Regions from separate parts of the Homo sapiens genome. Here all the other regions are linked to region 1. Evidence: promoter capture Hi-C in 16 types of primary human blood cells and fetal thymus (Javierre and others, 2016). All regions are on one chromosome and are shown on one strand. The core of a region is centred on a gene start or on the middle of the fragment in contact, and the rest is flanking DNA. Distances in the headings are between cores, read along the strand shown. Region 1 holds the start of GUCY2D (guanylate cyclase 2D, retinal). Region 2 overlaps DNAH2 (dynein axonemal heavy chain 2). Region 3 overlaps DNAH2 (dynein axonemal heavy chain 2). Region 4 has its middle 12 kb from the start of CYB5D1.

What was found. Contacts are between HindIII fragments. The CHiCAGO score rates a contact against its expected background, and 5 or more counts as called.
Region 2: a fragment that was not itself captured here is called in contact with the fragment with the promoter of GUCY2D in region 1 in 3 of 17 cell types (erythroblasts, activated CD4 T cells and naive B cells); the score reaches 8.5 in erythroblasts.
Region 3: a fragment that was not itself captured here is called in contact with the fragment with the promoter of GUCY2D in region 1 in 2 of 17 cell types (activated CD4 T cells and endothelial precursors); the score reaches 5.5 in activated CD4 T cells.
Region 4: a fragment that was not itself captured here is called in contact with the fragment with the promoter of GUCY2D in region 1 in 4 of 17 cell types (M2 macrophages, activated CD4 T cells, erythroblasts and 1 more); the score reaches 6.0 in M2 macrophages.

Annotation. Positions count from the first base shown.
Region 1 is chr17:7,999,995-8,004,730 of GRCh38, forward strand. It overlaps GUCY2D (guanylate cyclase 2D, retinal), which reads left to right and starts at 2,621. Exons shown (of 20, transcript NM_000180.4): 1 at 2,621-2,740; 2 at 3,045-3,774; 3 at 3,858-4,162. The coding sequence starts at 3,054. The HindIII fragment of the contact is 12,410 bases long and covers 1-4,736 here.
Region 2 is chr17:7,748,893-7,753,628 of GRCh38, forward strand. All of the region lies in intron 12 of DNAH2 (dynein axonemal heavy chain 2), which reads left to right. Among named protein-coding and RNA genes, the nearest start is that of DNAH2, 34 kb to the left of the region's middle. The HindIII fragment of the contact is 7,689 bases long and covers 1-4,736 here.
Region 3 is chr17:7,766,769-7,771,504 of GRCh38, forward strand. DNAH2 (dynein axonemal heavy chain 2) reads left to right here. Exons shown (of 86, transcript NM_020877.5): 23 at 1,132-1,293; 24 at 1,396-1,499; 25 at 3,484-3,640; 26 at 3,789-3,871; 27 at 3,985-4,165; 28 at 4,562-4,700. Among named protein-coding and RNA genes, the nearest start is that of DNAH2, 51 kb to the left of the region's middle. The HindIII fragment of the contact is 2,502 bases long and covers 1,037-3,538 here.
Region 4 is chr17:7,867,818-7,872,553 of GRCh38, forward strand. It overlaps a transcript of NAA38 not described here. Among named protein-coding and RNA genes, the nearest start is that of CYB5D1, 12 kb to the left of the region's middle. The HindIII fragment of the contact is 6,423 bases long and covers 1-4,736 here.

The sequences.
Region 1 (4,736 bases), core at 1,371-3,870:
CTTAAAAATTTCTGCTCTTTTTAAATTTTTCTATTTTCTTATTTTTTTTCTTTGTTCTTCAGAGCAGATCTACTTTCTTTGAATTCTATAATCTAAAATTTTTAATTAACTTTATTTGGAAATAATTTCAAACTTAAAAAATGTTGCAAAAATAAAAAATATGCAAAGAACACTCACAGGCTGTTTACCCAGATTCACCTATTGTTAGCATTTTACCCTATTTGTTTATCATTTGAAATAGATAATATATAAAACATACCATATATCATATCTAATATATATTTTTTCTGGACTGCTTGAGGGTCAGTTATATACATGATGCTTTACCATTAAATACTTCAGTGTGTATTTCCTATGAACAGGGATAGTCTAACATAACTACACTACCATTATTAACTTTATAACTTTATACTCTTTTGAATCTCCTGTGATATTCCAATTTTGTCAATTGCCAATTTTTTTGTTAATGTTGATGTTCTTTATAGCATTTTTATAACCCCATGCCGCCCTATAACCATTTTTCTTTTCTTTTTTTGTTTTTTGAGATGGAGTCTCACTTTGTTGCTTAGGCTGGAGTGCAGTGGCGCGATATTGGCTCACTGCAAACTCTGCTTCCCAGGTTCAGGTGATTCTCTTGCCTCAGCCTCCTGAGCAGCTGGGATTACAGGTGCACTCCACCACCCGCGGCTAATTTTTGTATTTTTAGTAGAGACGGGACTTCACCATGTTGGCCAGGCTGGTCTCAAACTCCTGACCTCAAGTGATCCGCCTGCCTCGGCCTCCCAAAGTGCTGGGATTATAGGCGTGAGCCACGGTGCCCGGCCTCAAGCCCTATAACCTTATAGCACTTTAAAAAAATCCAATGATACAGAATCCAAACTAAGGGCAGGTGTTGCATATAATTGTCATGTCTTTTTAGGTTTCTTTAATCTGAAACAGTTCCTCAACCTCTATTTGCCTTCTATGACATTGACATTTTTGAAGAATGCAGTCCTCCCCACCTTTTTAAATAGAACGTTTCTCATTTAGTGTTTATCTTATGTTTCCTTGTGATTAGATTTGAAATAATGCTGGAACATTGCCGAGACGTATTGTGCAGCACTGCATAGGTGTAGTATTATGTCCTTCTCAGGGTATCACATCTGGAGGCAAAGAATGTCTCTCTGCCCCTCATGGTTAATTTTGATCACTTGCTTAAAGTATTGCCCCATTTCTCCACTGTACAATGACTGCTTTTTATTTTATTCCCCACTCCCTTCCAACTCATGGCAATCTGGAGGGAGATACTTTCAGACCCTGCAAAAGTTCTGCTCCTCATCCAACATTTCCCCCAGCTTTAGAATCCACTGATGATTCTTACCTGATCCAATCTTTGCCACCAAGTCTGAAAATGATTCATTTAAAAGTTTTTAAGTTTTATTTTTCACATATAGGTCTTTGACCTGGAATAGATTTTGTGTATGGTGTGAGATAGGGATTGAATTCTATTTTCCCCCCAGATGGCTAATCAGCTCCATTTGTTGAAGTTTATTCTTTCCCAGTTGGTAAGAAATGTCCACGTCTTCACACATTTGCTGTGTTTGTTTCAGTACTGTATATTCTATTTCATTGGTCCATTTGTTTATCCTTGTGCCAAAACTATGAAGTCTTTATTGCCATAGCTTTATAATATATATTTATATAAATATATAATTGCTGTCACTACATAATGTGGATTTATATAAATATATAATATATAATTGCTATAGCTTTATAGTATATATTTATATAATTGCTGTTTTATATATCATATAATTATATAAATATATAATTGCTATGTTTTATATATTATATATTTATGTAGATATATAATTGCTATGTTTTATATATTATATATTTACATAAATACATAATTGCTATTGCTTTATAATAAATTTGTATATCTTATAGGGCATCTTCCATTATACTCTTCTCTAAAATTGTTAGCTATTCTTGCCATCCGGGCAATTATATTCATTTTCACAACAACCCTCAGATTAAGCAATTGCCCAAGGTCCAAAAATCAGCAAGAGGGACTTGGAACCCAGGTCTGTCGGAGGCCAAAGCTCTTTTCATTACTTCCTGAGGGTGGTTTTCTAGGCATGGAGAAGCAGAGGTCAGGGAATCAAGTGTGGCGAGAGAGAGAAGAGAAGTGAAAGAAGAAAGGCAGGTGTCAGCTTGGTGTGGGTTTGGTCTCTGGGATATAGACTTTGCCAGCCAAAGGATGGAGCTTGAACTTAGCTGGCAGAACTGGAAACAGAAGATTGTAAGGAAAGGGACTGGGATCAGTGTTTCTTCTCCAGGACGGATTACCCACAGCTGTCCACGGGCAGGCACTTGTTACTTTCTGGCTGAGCAGGGCAGTGTGGCCGACGGCTGAAAGGGGAAGCTGCGGCTGCTTTTGTGCAGGGGTGGTGGTGATGAGGGTGATGTGGGGGGCTGGAAGGCATGGAGGGGAAAGGATCTGGCTGACTACCTGGAAGCCAGGACAGATCCCACCCCAGAAAGGCGCAGTAGGGGCTCTCATCCTCCACTAGCCCGCCCCTCCCTACCTAATTAAGGACCCTAATCAGCTTGGGGAGATTAAGGGCTCTGGCCGGCTGTACCCACGCCCCCGCCCTGGCCTGGGCTGGCAAGGAAGACCTGTGGGCGGGCGTCAAAAGGGGGACCGGCCCTGTGACCCCTCACCGGGGGCCGTGGGCCCGAGCCCCCGGACTTCCCTGTAAATGTCAGAGGCCCCTCCGCTGGGATAGGGTCGGTCTGAGGGCGCAGGCGAGTCCCTGCTGACCCCTGACGCCTCCGACGGGGGGAGGGGCAGGCCGGGTGGGAGCGGGAAGCCGGGGCGGCAGAAGGGGGCTTCGGGGCGGTGTCCTTGGCCCCAGTTAGTCTTCCCAGCCTCCGGAGGGGGCGGTAGCAGCAGAATCATCCCATGGGTTACTCGGGCTTGGAGAAACTCGGGGTTACGGGGAGAACCCTAGGGGAGGCCGGGGTCTCAGTCGCTCAGCCTGCTCCGTCTGTGTTCGCAGAAGCCGGCAATGACCGCCTGCGCCCGCCGAGCGGGTGGGCTTCCGGACCCCGGGCTCTGCGGTCCCGCGTGGTGGGCTCCGTCCCTGCCCCGCCTCCCCCGGGCCCTGCCCCGGCTCCCGCTCCTGCTGCTCCTGCTTCTGCTGCAGCCCCCCGCCCTCTCCGCCGTGTTCACGGTGGGGGTCCTGGGCCCCTGGGCTTGCGACCCCATCTTCTCTCGGGCTCGCCCGGACCTGGCCGCCCGCCTGGCCGCCGCCCGCCTGAACCGCGACCCCGGCCTGGCAGGCGGTCCCCGCTTCGAGGTAGCGCTGCTGCCCGAGCCTTGCCGGACGCCGGGCTCGCTGGGGGCCGTGTCCTCCGCGCTGGCCCGCGTGTCGGGCCTCGTGGGTCCGGTGAACCCTGCGGCCTGCCGGCCAGCCGAGCTGCTCGCCGAAGAAGCCGGGATCGCGCTGGTGCCCTGGGGCTGCCCCTGGACGCAGGCGGAGGGCACCACGGCCCCTGCCGTGACCCCCGCCGCGGATGCCCTCTACGCCCTGCTTCGCGCATTCGGCTGGGCGCGCGTGGCCCTGGTCACCGCCCCCCAGGACCTGTGGGTGGAGGCGGGACGCTCACTGTCCACGGCACTCAGGGCCCGGGGCCTGCCTGTCGCCTCCGTGACTTCCATGGAGCCCTTGGACCTGTCTGGAGCCCGGGAGGCCCTGAGGAAGGTTCGGGACGGGCCCAGGGTCACAGGTAGGCTCCCTTGCAGGGTGCGAGGAGGTCGGCTGGTCCTGCCGGCAGCCGGACGGCGCCGCGAGCCAAGCCTCTGTCCGCAGCAGTGATCATGGTGATGCACTCGGTGCTGCTGGGTGGCGAGGAGCAGCGCTACCTCCTGGAGGCCGCAGAGGAGCTGGGCCTGACCGATGGCTCCCTGGTCTTCCTGCCCTTCGACACGATCCACTACGCCTTGTCCCCAGGCCCGGAGGCCTTGGCCGCACTCGCCAACAGCTCCCAGCTTCGCAGGGCCCACGATGCCGTGCTCACCCTCACGCGCCACTGTCCCTCTGAAGGCAGCGTGCTGGACAGCCTGCGCAGGGCTCAAGAGCGCCGCGAGCTGCCCTCTGACCTCAATCTGCAGCAGGTAGACGGTCCCGGGAGGAGGGAAGAAGGCAAGGGAGAGGGGAGAGGACAGCCAAAGCAGGGAGAGGAGGATGCAGCCAATGGAGAAAGAACCACTGGCAGCTCTAGCTGTTTGGAGTTTCCTGGGTAATGTAGAGGCTCTGGCCCCACTTGGGGTCTCTTAGTGTACGAGGATTGCCTCTAGAGAGTAGGCAATTCGACCTCTCAAGTCCAACATCAAGCAGTAAACTCTAATGAACTGTAAACTGCAAAACCTTTTGCAATTGGCTTCAAAGTAAACCCGTTTCCACCACCACATACTCCCAGCTGTCTAAAATAAATACTTGGTGTTCTTGAAAGCAGGAAGGAGGGAGGATGCCAATCCAACCTTCATCCCTAGTTCAGAGGTATTTCCTCTGGGGCCTCATCTGGTGGTCTTAGCTTTTCAAGGGCCTAGACACCTTGCAAGAAGCAGAAAGTTCCCTGGGTGGATTCAGGGGCAATCCTAACCAGATCCATAGTGTATTTCCAACATCCAGCTAATACCTAGGGATCCCCAAGTCCCCAGAATCCCAGTTCAGATCATCTAACTTTAC
Region 2 (4,736 bases), core at 715-3,214, 250 kb before region 1:
AGACTGAACATCATTCAAAGTTTCTCCCAGGATTTTCAGCTCAGCATCAGGAAGGTATTGTCTGAATTCATCCTGTTGACTGACATATTAAACTTGGATAATTTGCCTTAAAGTTATCTTGAAAATCTTGCCTTGGCCGGATGCGGTGGCTCGCATCTGTAATCCCAGCACTTTGGGAGGCCGAGGTGGGTGGATCACCTGAGGTCAGGAGTTCGAGACCAGCCTGACCAACATGGAGATACCCTGTCTCTACTAAAAATACAAAATTAGCCGGGCATGGTGGCAAGCGTCTGTAATCCCAGCTACTCAGGAGGCCGAGGCAAGAGAATTGCTTGAACCTGGGAGGCAGAGGTTGTGGTGAGCCGAGATTGCGCCATTGCACTCCAGCCTGGGCAACAAGAGCTAAACTCCCCCCCAAAAAAAAAAAAAAAAAAAAAAAAAAAAAAAAAAAAAAAAGAAAGAAAAAAGAAAATCTTGCCAAGATGAGAGAATGAAGAATTTGTTTTGGTGCAATGTTGGCCAGCATACATGCCCAAGTAGGCTTGCTCAGATGTTTATCAACAGTGACAAATCCAAGACATCCAGTTTGAAGGACATGATAATACGTTTATGCTACTAGAAATGTTTCTGTATCTATTCACACACTTCCAATCTCCCCATATCATTATAACACAACTTTTTGTTACATTGATGTTTAGGGCTTATCTTATTATGACTCTATTAGGATTGTTCACTGCTGAGTTGAGTAATTTTACATTGTTATAGTTCTTTTGCTTGTACAATGTTTTGCTCAATTTGGAATTTAAAATTGCCTCATTATTAGGCCAGGTGTGGTGGCTCATGCCTCTAATCCCAGCACTTCAGGAGGCTGAGGTGGGTGGATCACGAGGTCAGGAGTTCGAGACCAGCCTGGCCAACATGGTGAAACCCCGTCTATACTAAAAATACAAAAAATAGCTGGGCATGGTGGCGGGTGGCTGTAATCCTAGCTACTCAGGAGGCTGAGGCAGGAGAATCTCGCTTGAACCCGGGAGGCAGAGGTTGCAGTGAGCTGAGATCACGCCATTGCACTGCAGCCTGGGCGACAGAGCGAGACTCTGTCTCAAAAAAAGAAAAATTACCTCATTATTATCGTTATTACTATTATTATTATTTGAGATGGAATTTCGCTCTGTTGCCCAGGATCTCTGCTCTGCTTCCCAGGTTCAAGCGATTCTCCTACCTCAGGTGATCCACACACCTCAGCCTCCCAAAGTGCTGGGATTACAGGTGTGAGCCATTGTGCCTGGCCACCTCATTATTTTTGCTAGCGCAGCATTCACTATCACTAAGTCCTCCAAACCAACCAATAAAATCCCTTTGAGTAGTATTTTTCCTCACAATCTGACATACTGGGTATTGGTTTCAATGTTTTTCTTAGATCTGTTTTTTTCCTGTCCTCCTGCTTCTGTCCAGCTGGTGTTGTTTTCAAGGCCTGTTACAAAGCAGTTACCCCGGGACTTCCCTCAGCCTCTTTCCTTGTTTGATTTCATGTTTCCTTTGTCTTCCTCTTTTTTGGTTTACGCCTTTGTTTTGTTGGTGTGTATCCATTAGTAGCTTCCTAAGAAATGGTGCAGGGGAGGTAAATCTTTTGAGTTTTTGCATGATTGACAACTGTTTTCCTGCCCTCTGCTTGTTGTACATTTGGCTGGGTTTGGAATTCTAGCCGATTTATAGTAATTGTCTTTGGCTTTGGCCTCTCTCTTTTACTTTGGAGGCTTTCCTTAAATGCCTGGTGATTCATTGCTCATTTATACTTTCAAGAGGCTTACTCACTTTGAAGATATTTTAGCAGTTTTAAAAATACCACATACGTTAGTGGAGATCTTCAGGGTTTGAAAAAACAGCATTTCTTCTTCCACAATCTCTTAAAGCCTGTATCACAAATAAGTGAGCACTTGAAAATCATTTCATTCTTGGAGGATTCTTCTCCAATAAAGACGGTAAAAACACAATCCTTTGCAAAGTTTGAAATGTGTTATTATCTCCAATATTGTTAATTCAGTGTAGAAAAGACTAAAAAAATTCTAGAATTTTCACCTCAATATTCTTTCCAAATAACATTTCAGCAGTATTTAGAATGCAAAGTTTCTTGAGCATATCTTCAGGTCGTGGGAATGTTTATCCTTTGTGATTAAAAAGTGCAATTTTATTTTAAAAGCCCTGCAGATTAAAAAAAATCAAGTTATTTATTTATTTATTTATTTATTTATTTATTCATTTTTTTTTTGAGGGGGAGTCTTGCCCTGTTGTCCAGTCTGGAGTACAGTGGCACCATCTTGGCTGACTGCAACCTCTGCGTCCTGGGTTCAAGCGATTTCTGGCTAATTTTTGGATTTTTAGTAGGGATGGGGTTTCACCATGTTGGCCAGGCTGGTCTCAAACTCCTGACCTGAAATGATCCACCCACCTTGGCCTTCTAAAATGCTGAACTTACAGGCATGAGCCACCACACCAGGCCAAGATTTTTTTTTAATTTTATTTTAAAAAATATTCCATATTTTCTTCTGGTATTTTATGATTTTATTCTCTACATTTAGATGTTTGATCCATTTGAAATTTATTTTGGTGTAGAGAAAGAGGTGCAGATTCAAATTGAGTTTTGTATTTCATTGTTTGTTTGTTTTTTCCTGATGGCTAGAGCCATCTCATTTAGAGTTGACCCAATCTCATTTAGTGAACTACTATCTTTATAGTAACACATTCCCGAGTATATTCGTGTCTATTTTGGGATTCTCTATTCTGGTATCTGTCTATTCATGTGCAGGAACCAAACTGTTTTAATTATTGTCCTCATTACTCTTCTTTCTTCAGAGTTTTCCAGGCTATATTTAATATTTATTTCCCATAAGAATTTTAGAATCAATTTGTTTAGTTCCAAAAATAGTCTCATTCCTATTTTTATAGGAATAGAGATTTGGTTAAATTTATAGGTTAACTTTAGAAGAATATCTTTATGATTTTGAGTCTTTCCAAGAATAGTTGTGGGGTGTGTGTGTGTGTGTGTGTGTGTGTGCGTGTTTTGAGACTGAGTCTTGTTCTGTCATGCAGGCTGGAGTGCAGTGACACGATCTCAGCTCACTGCAGCTAGGACCTCCCAGGCTTATTGATCCTCTTCCGCCTCAGCCCCCCAAGTAGCTGAAACTACAGGTGTGAACCACCGGGCCTGGCCAACAGTGTTTTTTCTTTCAATTTATTTAAGTCCTGCCTTTTCCCCTTAAGTCATTTTACACACACACACACACACACACACACACACACACAATTTCTGATTAATTTTTGGTATTTTATTTTTGTTGTTTTAATTGTTATTGTCTCTTTTTCTTGATGATAATATCTACCTAGTCACAATTTTTGTATTGAGAACTTTGATTTTTATAAATTAATTTTGTACCTAGCAACTTTTACAAATATGTTTAAAATCATTTTTTCCTTTAAAAACATTTTTATTATGAAACTTGTCATAGACAGAGATATACGTAAAACTTGTATGTTCAGGCCGCGCGCGGTGGCTCACGCCTGTAATCCCAGCACTTTGGGAGGCCGAGGCGGGCGGATCACGAGGTCAGGAGATCGAGACCATCCTGGCTAACATGGTGAAACCCTGTCTCTACTAAAAATACAAAAAATTAGCGGGGCGTGGTGGCGGGCGCCTGTAGTCCCAGCTACTCAGGAGGCTGAGGCAGGAGAATGGCGTGAACCTGGGAGGCAGAGCTTGCAGTGAGCTGAGATTGCGCCACTGCACTCCAGCCTGGGTGACAGAGCAAGACTCCGTCTCAAAAAAGAAAAAAAATTGTATGTTCAGTTTAACTAACAAATCATTATAAAATAACAAAATAAAACACCCTTGCAAACTACTGCCCAAGTCAAGGATTGCCAGGAGTCCTAGAGCCTCTCCCACATGCCCACTGAATAATTATTTTTCAGGTGAATTGTTGTTAGCACTTAAAATTCAGGAGATTTTACATGAAAAACCAATTTCTGGCCTCTCTTGAAAAATCAGAAAATGCATCCACACTGGGCCCACATTTCCAGATGGCAACAATTGCCTGGAGCGTGGAGCATGGCTTTCTTCGCGGGAGCATGTCCTCTTCAGCTCAACTTTAAGGCCAAGCGTCAGTTGCCATTTATCATCACACTTGAGCCACACTTGCCTTGGAGGTAGGTGTCTGAATTTCTGAACTTTGCTTTAGCATATTAAAAACAGAAGGAGGTTGGATGTCGGAAAGTAAGGCCGAGGAAGGATGCATGGTTCTGGTGTAGGCGGTGGGATAGTACCCTTCCCTGAGGCAGGAGCGCCAAGTTTGCAGAGAAGATGATGTGCTTGTTTCTAGACACATTGAGTTTGAGGTGCTTGTGCACGAGCAAGCAGGGCAGAGCTATCTAGTAGACAGTTGCACAACGAAGCCCAGAGCTCAGGTTAGCTGTGCAGGTTTGGGGATCATCAGCTTTCGGAAGGCAGCCGAAGCCATGGGAGTGGAAGAGATGACCAAGGGGGAGTGGGCTGGATGTGAAGAACCTCGGGGAGTCCGCATTGAAGGGAGCTGCAAGGAAAGCAGATTCTTTACTGTATCCCCAGCGCCTAGCTGAATGATATTTACATGGGACACTGGAGAGAGGAGGATACTCCTACTGAAAGGAAGGGCAGAAAAGAGGACCGTGGTCCAGAAGCTAGGGAAAAGAGTGCGTTTGAAGAA
Region 3 (4,736 bases), core at 1,038-3,537, 230 kb before region 1:
TCCCGAGTAGCTGGGATTACAAGCATCCACCACTATGCATGGCTAATTTTTATATTTTTAGTATAGAGATGGGGTTTCACCATATTGTCCAGACTGGTCTCGAACTCCTGACCTCAGGTGATCCACCTGGCTCGACCTCCCAAAGTGCTAGGATTACAGGTGTGAGCCACCACGCCCTGCCAAAATTAACCATTTTGAAGTAAACAATTCGTGACGTTTAGTAATTCATACCACATCTATCTAATTCCCAAACATTTTTATTACCCTAAAGGAAACTCTGCCCATTAGCAGTCACGTGCATCCCCCGTCCCCCGCCCCAGTCCCCCGTCCCCCGCCCCAGTCTGTTATGAGCCTGTTTTCCATGTGTATGATTCCCCTATTCTGGACACTTCATACAAATGGAACCATTTGTATGATAATACGTGGCCTTTTTAATCTGGCTTCTTTCGCTTAGCATAATGTCTTCAAGGTTCATCCATGGTGTGGCATGGATCAGTACTTTTTTAAATGGCTGAATATTCATATTTGAATATCGCATGAGTTTACCACATTTTGTTTACCATTCACCAGTTGATGGACATTTGGGTTGTTTCCACCTTTTAGCTAAAGGGAGTAGTGCTGCCATGAACACGCGTGTACTTGTATTTGTCTGAACACCTGTTCCCTATTCTTGTGAGTGTAAGCCTAGGGGTGGAATTGCTAGATCATATGGAAACTCTATGTTTAACTTTTTGAGGAGCTGCCAAGCCATTTTCCACAGCAGCTGCACCGTTTCACATTCCCACTAGCAGTGTACAAGTCTCCCTATTTCTCCATATCTCCGTGCCAACACTTATTTACCTTTTTTTTTTTTTTTTTGGTTCTAGCCATCCTAGCGGGTGTGAAGTGGCATCCCACTGAGGTTTTGATTTGCATTTCCCTAATGACTCATGACATTGAGGATTTTTTCATGTGCTTGTTCCTTGATAAGCTCTTAAGGCAACAGAGTGGAGAAAAATATGTGGACTGAGGAGGCCGCTGTATTATCTAGAGGGGAAGCTTCACAGAGCGAGAGCAGCGAAGGGCCTGGGCGTCCGTCAGGGAGGAAGAGGGCAGGTGCCACTTCATGCAACGCGCCTTTCTGCCCTGTAGGAGCTCGATGCCCTCCAGCAAATCTGGGAGATCGCACGAGACTGGGAGGAGAACTGGAATGAGTGGAAGACTGGCCGGTTCCTGATCCTGCAGACGGAAACCATGGAGACCACGGCCCACGGGCTGTTTCGTCGCCTCACAAAATTAGCCAAAGAGTATAAGGTGGGGAGAAACGGCGGGGAGGCGGAAGAGAAGCTGGTGGAGGATCTGGGTCTGTTCCCAGGGAGGTCGTCGGGTCTTCTCATGCCCCCAACTTTTGCTCAGGACCGAAACTGGGAAATTATTGAAACCACTCGCTCAAAAATAGAGCAGTTCAAGAGGACCATGCCTCTCATCTCAGACCTGCGGAACCCTGCCCTTAGAGAGAGGTGAGGCTTCTCCTCTGCTCCGGGGTGTCCACTCTGCCCCGCTGGCCTGCGCCACCACTTGGTCCCTCCCATTCTCCTCTCCGCAGTGTTCACAGCCCTCTCTTCCCCTCTGTCCACAAATGTATGTCTTTTTCTCTTTCCTCTTTTTAACATTTAATTTTGATGGACGCATGAAAATTGCATACACTTTGGTGTACAGCATAATGTTTTGAAATATGTACACATTGTAGAATGGCTAAATTGAGCTAATTATCATATGCATTACCTCACATACCTATTTTTTGTAGTGAGAGTACTGAAAAGCTACTCTCAGTGATTTTCAAGTATACAATAGATTGTTATTAACCATTGTTGCCGTGATGTACAGGAGATCATCCCTCTTGTCTAACTGAAATTTTGTGTCCTTTGACCAACACCTCCCGAACTTTCCACCTACCACCCCCAGCCCCTGGTAACCAGCACTCGACTCTGCTTCTGTGAGTTCAACCTGTTCAGACTTTACATATGACATATGAGTGCGATCATGCGGTGTTTGTCTTTCTTCGCCTGGCTTATTTCGCTTAGCATAATGTCCTCCAGGTTCTTCCATGTTGTTGCAAATGACAGGATTTTCTTCTTTCCTGAGGCTGAAGAGTATTTCTTTGTATATATACACCACATTTTCATCCTCCATTCATCGCTTGATGGACACTTAGGGTGATTCCACATCTTAGCTATTGCAAATAGTGCTCAGCGAACATGTGGCGCAGACACCAAGCCTGCCACTGTCCTCTGCTTCTTGCACTGTCTCGGGTCATCCAGCCTTGCTGGCTTCTTGTTCTCTGACCCCTGCCCTGGGGCCTCCCTCTCTCTGAAAGGGAGTTGTCTATCATGACTAAGTCTTATGTCTTTTTTTTTCCTTTTTTTGTGGGGGAGACAAAGTCTCACTCTGTTGCCCTGGCTGGGGTGCAGTGCTGTGATCTCGGCTCACTGTAACCTTCACCTCGCGGGTTCAAGCAATTCTTGTGCCTCAGCCTCCCAAGTAGCTGGGATTACAGGCACCTGCCACCATGCTCTGCTAATTTTTGTATTTTTAGTAGAGATGGGGTTTTGCCATGTTGCCCAAGATGGTCTTGAACTCCTGGCCTCAAGTGATCCGCTCGCCTTGGCCTCCCAAAGTGCTGGGATTACAGGCATGAGCCACCGTGCCCGTCCCGCCTTATGTCTTTTGTTATACAAAAGATTTTATTTTGAGGTAGCCAGAAGTATAACTTTCTTTCTGTATGGTTTTTGCCTTTGTGCCTTGTTTAGGAAGACCTTTCCTATCCCAAAGTTACAAATACATCCTCTTCATTCTTTCCTCTAATGCTTTGTGTTTCTCAGGTTTAACTCTTTTAATTCATCTGGAATTTATTATATGGCAGAGGATGTATCTCAAACCATTGGGGATAGATTTATAAAAATAAAGTAATTTTTATAAATGGTGTTTCAATCATGATCTATCCATTTAAGAGAAAATAATTTTACTTCTTTGTCTTTCTTCCAGTATAACGTTTTTGGCAATGCCAAACCATTAAGTGTTATACGGTTATGTATAACCTAACCACTTTATTTGCTTACATTATTTAACCTCTCTAAGCCTCAGTTTTCTCATCTGTAAATGGAATAATAATAATTCCTAATTTATAGAGTAGCCGTGAGAATGATATGAGATGTTTCATGTAAGGCCTTTACTCAGTACAGTTCTAGAGTAAACCTGCGGTGATTCATTGTGTGTTTTGTGGGCACACCTGCCTTAACTTCCTCTCCAGAGAATCCACTCCTGGAGGGTTTCACCTCAATCTTCGTATTCCCCTGGTGCCTAAGATTGCATCTTCGAGCCTGTTTAGCAAAATGAGTTGAATCATGAATTGGTAACTATGCAGAATCATAGTGTCCCAGTGGGAGACAGCAATGGAGTGATGGTAACTCTCCTGACCTCACACCCTCCTGTTCCTGGCTGCAGGCACTGGGACCAGGTCCGGGATGAGATCCAGCGGGAGTTTGATCAGGAATCTGAAAGCTTCACCTTGGAGCAGATTGTGGAGCTTGGGATGGATCAGCATGTGGAGAAAATTGGGGAGATCTCTGCTTCAGCAACTAAAGAGCTGGCTATAGAAGTGGTACGACAGTCCCCTCCCATGCTCCCACACCTCCTGCGCCTCCTGGAGCACAGGCTCCAGCTGTTCATCATCTGATGGCGCCTCTCAGCTCCTGTTCCCCTTAGTGAAGAGATACCTGACTGCTGTGTCCCCCAATTTCTCTCCACAGGCTTTACAAAACATTGCCAAGACCTGGGATGTGACTCAGCTCGACATAGTACCCTACAAGGATAAGGGCCATCATCGGCTCAGGTCAGGGGAGCTGGGGCTCTAGGAGAATGGAGGGCTGTGTGACCCAGGCTGCAGAGTGGGACCAAGGTTGGGCAGGTGGGGATGAACTATGATTTTGACCCCTTGTGTCTCAGAGGTACAGAAGAAGTATTCCAGGCACTGGAAGATAACCAGGTAGCTCTGTCTACCATGAAGGCATCACGCTTTGTCAAGGCCTTTGAGAAGGATGTGGACCACTGGGAACGCTGCCTCTCCCTCATTTTGGAGGTTATTGAGATGATTCTCACAGTGCAGCGTCAGTGGATGTACTTAGAGGTCAGGACTCAGCGCCTGAGCTCTTCCTGCTTCCTGCTCTTACTCCTTCTTTTTCTTAAGACCTAGATTTTGCCCTGTTATCAGCCTCATTCTCCTACCTTTAAAGTCACTCTTCATCTAGGACCCAGCTGTCTGATTCTTAGTTATTACCTCTCACCTTAGATTCCCTCCGTAACAAGTTTTTGTTCTTCTCAGATTTTTCTTCCATTTTTCTTCTTAGACCCAGGTAGCTGGCCCCCTACCTCCAGCTTTCCTTGTAGAACTTGGGCATCTTGGCCTTTGACTTCTAGCACTCTGTATCTTCTACCCAACTGTCACCCACAATCTGGGAACAGGGAGCAGAGGGTGGAGAGTGTGTAAGAAGTGGCCTCTCACCCCAACTTTTGGCCCCCTCAGAATATCTTCCTAGGAGAAGACATCCGCAAGCAGCTGCCCAATGAATCGACCTTATTTGACCAGGTCAACAGCAACTGGAAAGCCATCATGGACAGGATGAACAAGGACAACAATGCTCTCCGGAGCACCCATCACCCAGGTCAGAGCTCCAGGGCTCCTGCCCTGACACAGCCTC
Region 4 (4,736 bases), core at 718-3,217, 130 kb before region 1:
GAGATGAAATGAAGAGAGAATTGCAGGACTTGATAATTTGGGTAGGGGTCTAAGGCAAAGGGAGGAGTCAAGGATGACACCCGTGTCTGGCCTGGATGACTAGGAGGATGGTGAGTCCACTGGCAGAAAAAGGAACTGCTGGAAGAGGACTTTGGGAAGGAAAGTGATGAATTTTTAGTTAGCTGTATGAGGTAACTCGGGCAGGCAGGCACATGTCCAGATCTTGTTGGATATATAGGACTGGATCCTGAAAGACAGCTCTGGGCTAGAGTTATAGGTGTGGGAATTATTGGCAGATAGCAGCTGTAGCCAGTCAAGGATCAGATCCCCTTAAGGACGAAGTGCAATCTACAGAGGTTTGGGGAGGAGAAAAGGACACCACAAAGGAAGAGCTAGAGGGTGAAAGAGGCCAAGCAGGAAATGTTGCCACAGAAGCCAAAGAGAGAGCACAGAAGAGAGGGGAGCGGCCAACAGTATAAAGTGCTGCACAGAGGTCACGTAAGATGAAGACCTGAGCGACCATGGATTCAGCAAACAGCAGGTCATGGTGGCTTTGTTAGAGAAGCCAGGCTGCAGTTGGACAAGGTATGCATGGGATATTCTTAGAAGAAATCTAACTGCAGAAAGGAGGAGTGTTCTGGCTTTATAACCATGCACAGAATATTTAAATACCTTCCTTTGGATTCCATTTCTTCAACCATAAAATACAGATAATAGAAAGTAAGATGACAGTAGGGCAACAGGCAAGACCCAGGACATGGTACCCTAAAAAGATGCTACCTTATAGTGTTGTTGAGAAGATTAAATAAGGAATGGGAACCTGCCCAGCACTATAAAGAGTCCTTGGAAAAGACACTCAGAAAACCTTAGTTTTCTTTCCCATTCCTTGTGCTAGCCATTCTTTATTTAGTAATGAATCCTCCCCTCAGGATTTTGAGATTTGGCATTTTTCAGCATCCAGGTAACATCTCTCATGATTAGAAAATTACAGACCGTATCTGTGACTAACATTCAGTTTCCAACCTAACAATAGTGTTTATTCCTCCATTAGGAGAAGTTTTTGAGTCAAGTAAAATATGGTTTGTTTCATATCATGCCAGAATTGAGCTTCTTTATACAGTGATGGAAAGCAAGGGAATGGGGCCAACTACTGGGAGAAGAGTAACTAAAGTCAGTCCTTTGCTCCTAAAGGATTTTAAGGTGCTTAAGCTCGTAACTCAGGTTGTGAATCTTCTCACCTTGCAGTCATCTTAAGTGAACCTCTGAAGAGAGAAGTGGCTAACAGTAAACTTGATGGTTTAGAATGCAGCTACCAATTATCGAGTACCTTATTACAGCCAGTGCTTTATGTAAGTTAGCTCACTTAAACCTCACCACAACCCTTTGAGATAGGCATTAATACACCATTTTACAGATGGAGGAGCTGAGACTTGAGGGATAAATAGCTTGCCCAGGGTCATAGTTATTAAGTGGCAGAGCTTGGATTCCAGGTGCTACCTTTCTGACACCAAAGCTCAAACTCTTCCTCTAATGAAGTGAGTGGATAACTTTATTATTGACTCTGGGATACATTTTAGGAGTTCTACAGTTTTGGAATATAGAATAAGTTGATTTTTAATGTATTAATTATATCTCATTCAGTCTGAAATAAAAATGATGCTCAGTCGAGTGCGGTGGCTCATGCCTATAATCCCAGCACTTTCGGAGGCCGAGGCGGGTGGATCACTTCAGGTCAGGAGTTCAAGACCAGCCTGGCCAACATGGTGAAACCCTGTCTCTACTAAAAATATAAAAAATTAGCTGGGTGTGGTGGTGGATGCCTGTAATCCCAGCTACTTGGAAGGCTAAGGCAGGAGAATCGCTTCAACCCGGGAGGCAGAGGTTGCAGTGAGCCGAGATCACACCACTGCATTCCAGCCCGGGTGACAGAGCAAGACTCCGTCTCCAAAAAAAAGAAAAGAAAAAAAAATATTTTCCTTTACAGACTGGAGTGCTAGATGGTGAAAGGGCCCAAGAGCAAGTGAAGGGGTAAGAGGAAGCCAGTGTGGGTTAGCATTTCCCATGACAAATTTATAACCTAAAGGATAGTTAATCAGCTGGGAAAAGTGTGCAATTCTGCTGGAACAACTGGGGCTTGAAAACAGATGAAAAGCAAGATACTTCTAGCTGGCCAGCCAACAGAAAACTATTAAGAAATTGTTAAAAAGCAATGTCAAATGGGAAAAAGTTTGGTTTTTGCCATTTTGTATAGGATTATTCAGTTTCCATCACAGTGGTCAATCGAAGAAGATCTACAGCTGGGCATGGTGGCCCCTGTGCTTGTAACCCCAGCTACTCCAGAAGCTGAGGTGGGAGGATTGCTTGAGCCTGGGAGGCAGTTACTGCAGTGAGCTGAGATCATGCCACTGCACTCCAGCCTGGGTGACAGAGGAAGACTCTGTCTTAAAAATAAAATAAAATAAAATAAATTTTTAAAAGCAGATCTAAAAAACTTGCAGAAGGCAAAGACAACAATTACAACAATTTTAGGCTTACATCTTCCTCCTTCTGATTAAGATGATATTCCTTACTCAGTGAGAGCAAGGAAATGGATTTAGCTAAAAGGCAGCAATAGAAGGATGAGCAGACCAGATAAAATCTTTTAATCAATTAAAAAACAAAAAATCTTTTAATCGAAAAGATATATTGCAGTATTTGGGTTCTTTATTAGGTACTGGAGGTACAGAGAACTATTCCATAGCTCAGAAGTTGAGTTACTTCTATTTTAAAATTTATTTATTTTGGCCAGGCACGGTGGCTCACGCCTGTAATCCCAGCACTCTGGGTGGCCGAGGTGGGCAGATCACCTGAGGTCAGGAGTTCAAGACCAGCCTGGCCAACATGGTGAAACCCGGTCTCTACTAAAAAAAATACACAAAAATTAGCCCAGTGCAGTGGTGCACGCCTGTAATCCCAGCTACTCGGGAGGCTGAGGCAGGAGAATTGCTTGAACCTGGGAGGTGGAGGTTTCGGTGAGCCGAGATCGTGTCACTACACTCCAGCTTGGGGGCGACAGAGCAAGACTCCACCTCAAAAAAAAAAAAAAAAATTGTAGAAACGGGGTCTCACTATGTTGCCCAGGCTGATCTTGAACTCCTGGGCTCAAGTGATCCACCCACCCCAGCTTCCCAAAGTGTGGAGATTACAGGTGTGAACCACCACACCCAACCAGAAATTATTTTTCTAAAAAGATGCCACACCATCATATCGAGCTAAGCACATCTAGAAACAAATTCATTATGGCCTCTTAAAGCCAGCTTCTTTCTCAATTGCTATTAACAATGTCCAATTCTTGAGCCATCACATCATCTAATTTTCTTTTTTCAGGTCTACTGTGGTCCATGAGTTTAGGCATAAATGCCCACCTCTCAATAGCTCTGACCTTGAGCAAGATATTTAACCTCCCTTTGTCTGTTTTCTCATCTGTAAAATGAGTATTAGGATACTTTCTACTTTATAAGGTTATTGAAAGGAGTGAGTGAGTTAGTACATATTAAGTACTTAGTTCCTGGATGCAGAGTAAAACTCAATAAAAGTCAGCAATCATCATCCTATTGTTCATCTTTTGTACATATACTTTACTACTTTTGTATTTTTTTTCTATTGGTCTTTTTCTTATTGTTGATTTCTATGACATCTTTATTTCATCAAGAATACAAACACTAGCTCGCTATCTTCCTTTATACCCCCTTACTCCTGCTGTAATACAATACTGGAGTAATCCTGGAGCCAGTACCCGACCCCAGCAGCTTCTTGATCACTGAAGAAATAGGAAGTAGATCTCTGGTGGGCCAGGTCTAAAACGTTCTTCTTTCTTTGAGGTGGAGTCACTCTGTCGCCCAGGCTGGAGTGCAGTGGTGCAATCTTGGCTCATTGCAACCTCCGCCTCCCGAGTTCAAGCAATTCTCCTGCCTCAGCTTTCCGAGTAGCTGGGAATACAAGCACGCACCATGATGCCTGGCTATTTTTTGTATTTTTAGTAGTGATGGGGTTTCACCACGTTGGCCAGGCTGGTCTCGAACTCCTGACCTCAAGTGACCCACCCACCTCGGCTTCCCAAAGTGCTGGGATGGCAGGCGTGAGCCACCAAGCCTGTCCTTACAATCTTCTTGTCACTCTGGAAACCCTGTCTGTAGTTCTTCTTTGGCCCTTCCAATAATTTTGTAAGCCCTGGTTTCCTGGATAAAGTATCTTTCTGAGCTAGAGTAGTTTCTGTTATCTCTGAGCTCTATTAGAGCACACAGTATTTACTGAATAAAATGGTCTGTCATTAATGGCACAAATATTTTCCTAGCTAGTCTTTTAACTTTATGTTTTCTTACACAGTAAAATTTAGTTTCATTGAGTTAAATCTATCCACGTTTTCCTTTAAAGCATCCACGTTGATGCTTGTTGTACGCTTAAGGCCTTTTTCACCCCCAAGATCAGGAAAATATTCACCCACACTTTTTATATCTCATTCTAGTTCTCTAAAAAATTTTTTGGTCTTGCTGAATTGAGCAGAATTACATTTTTTGTTTTGTTTTGTTTTTTGAGACGGAGTCGCTCTGTTGCCCAGGCTGGAGTGCAGTGGCACAATCTTGGCTCACTGCAACCTCCGCGTTCAGGTGATTCTCCTGCCTTAGCCTCCTGAGTAGCTGGGATTGCAGGCATGCGCCACCACGCCCGGCTAATTTTTGTATTTTTAATAGAGACGG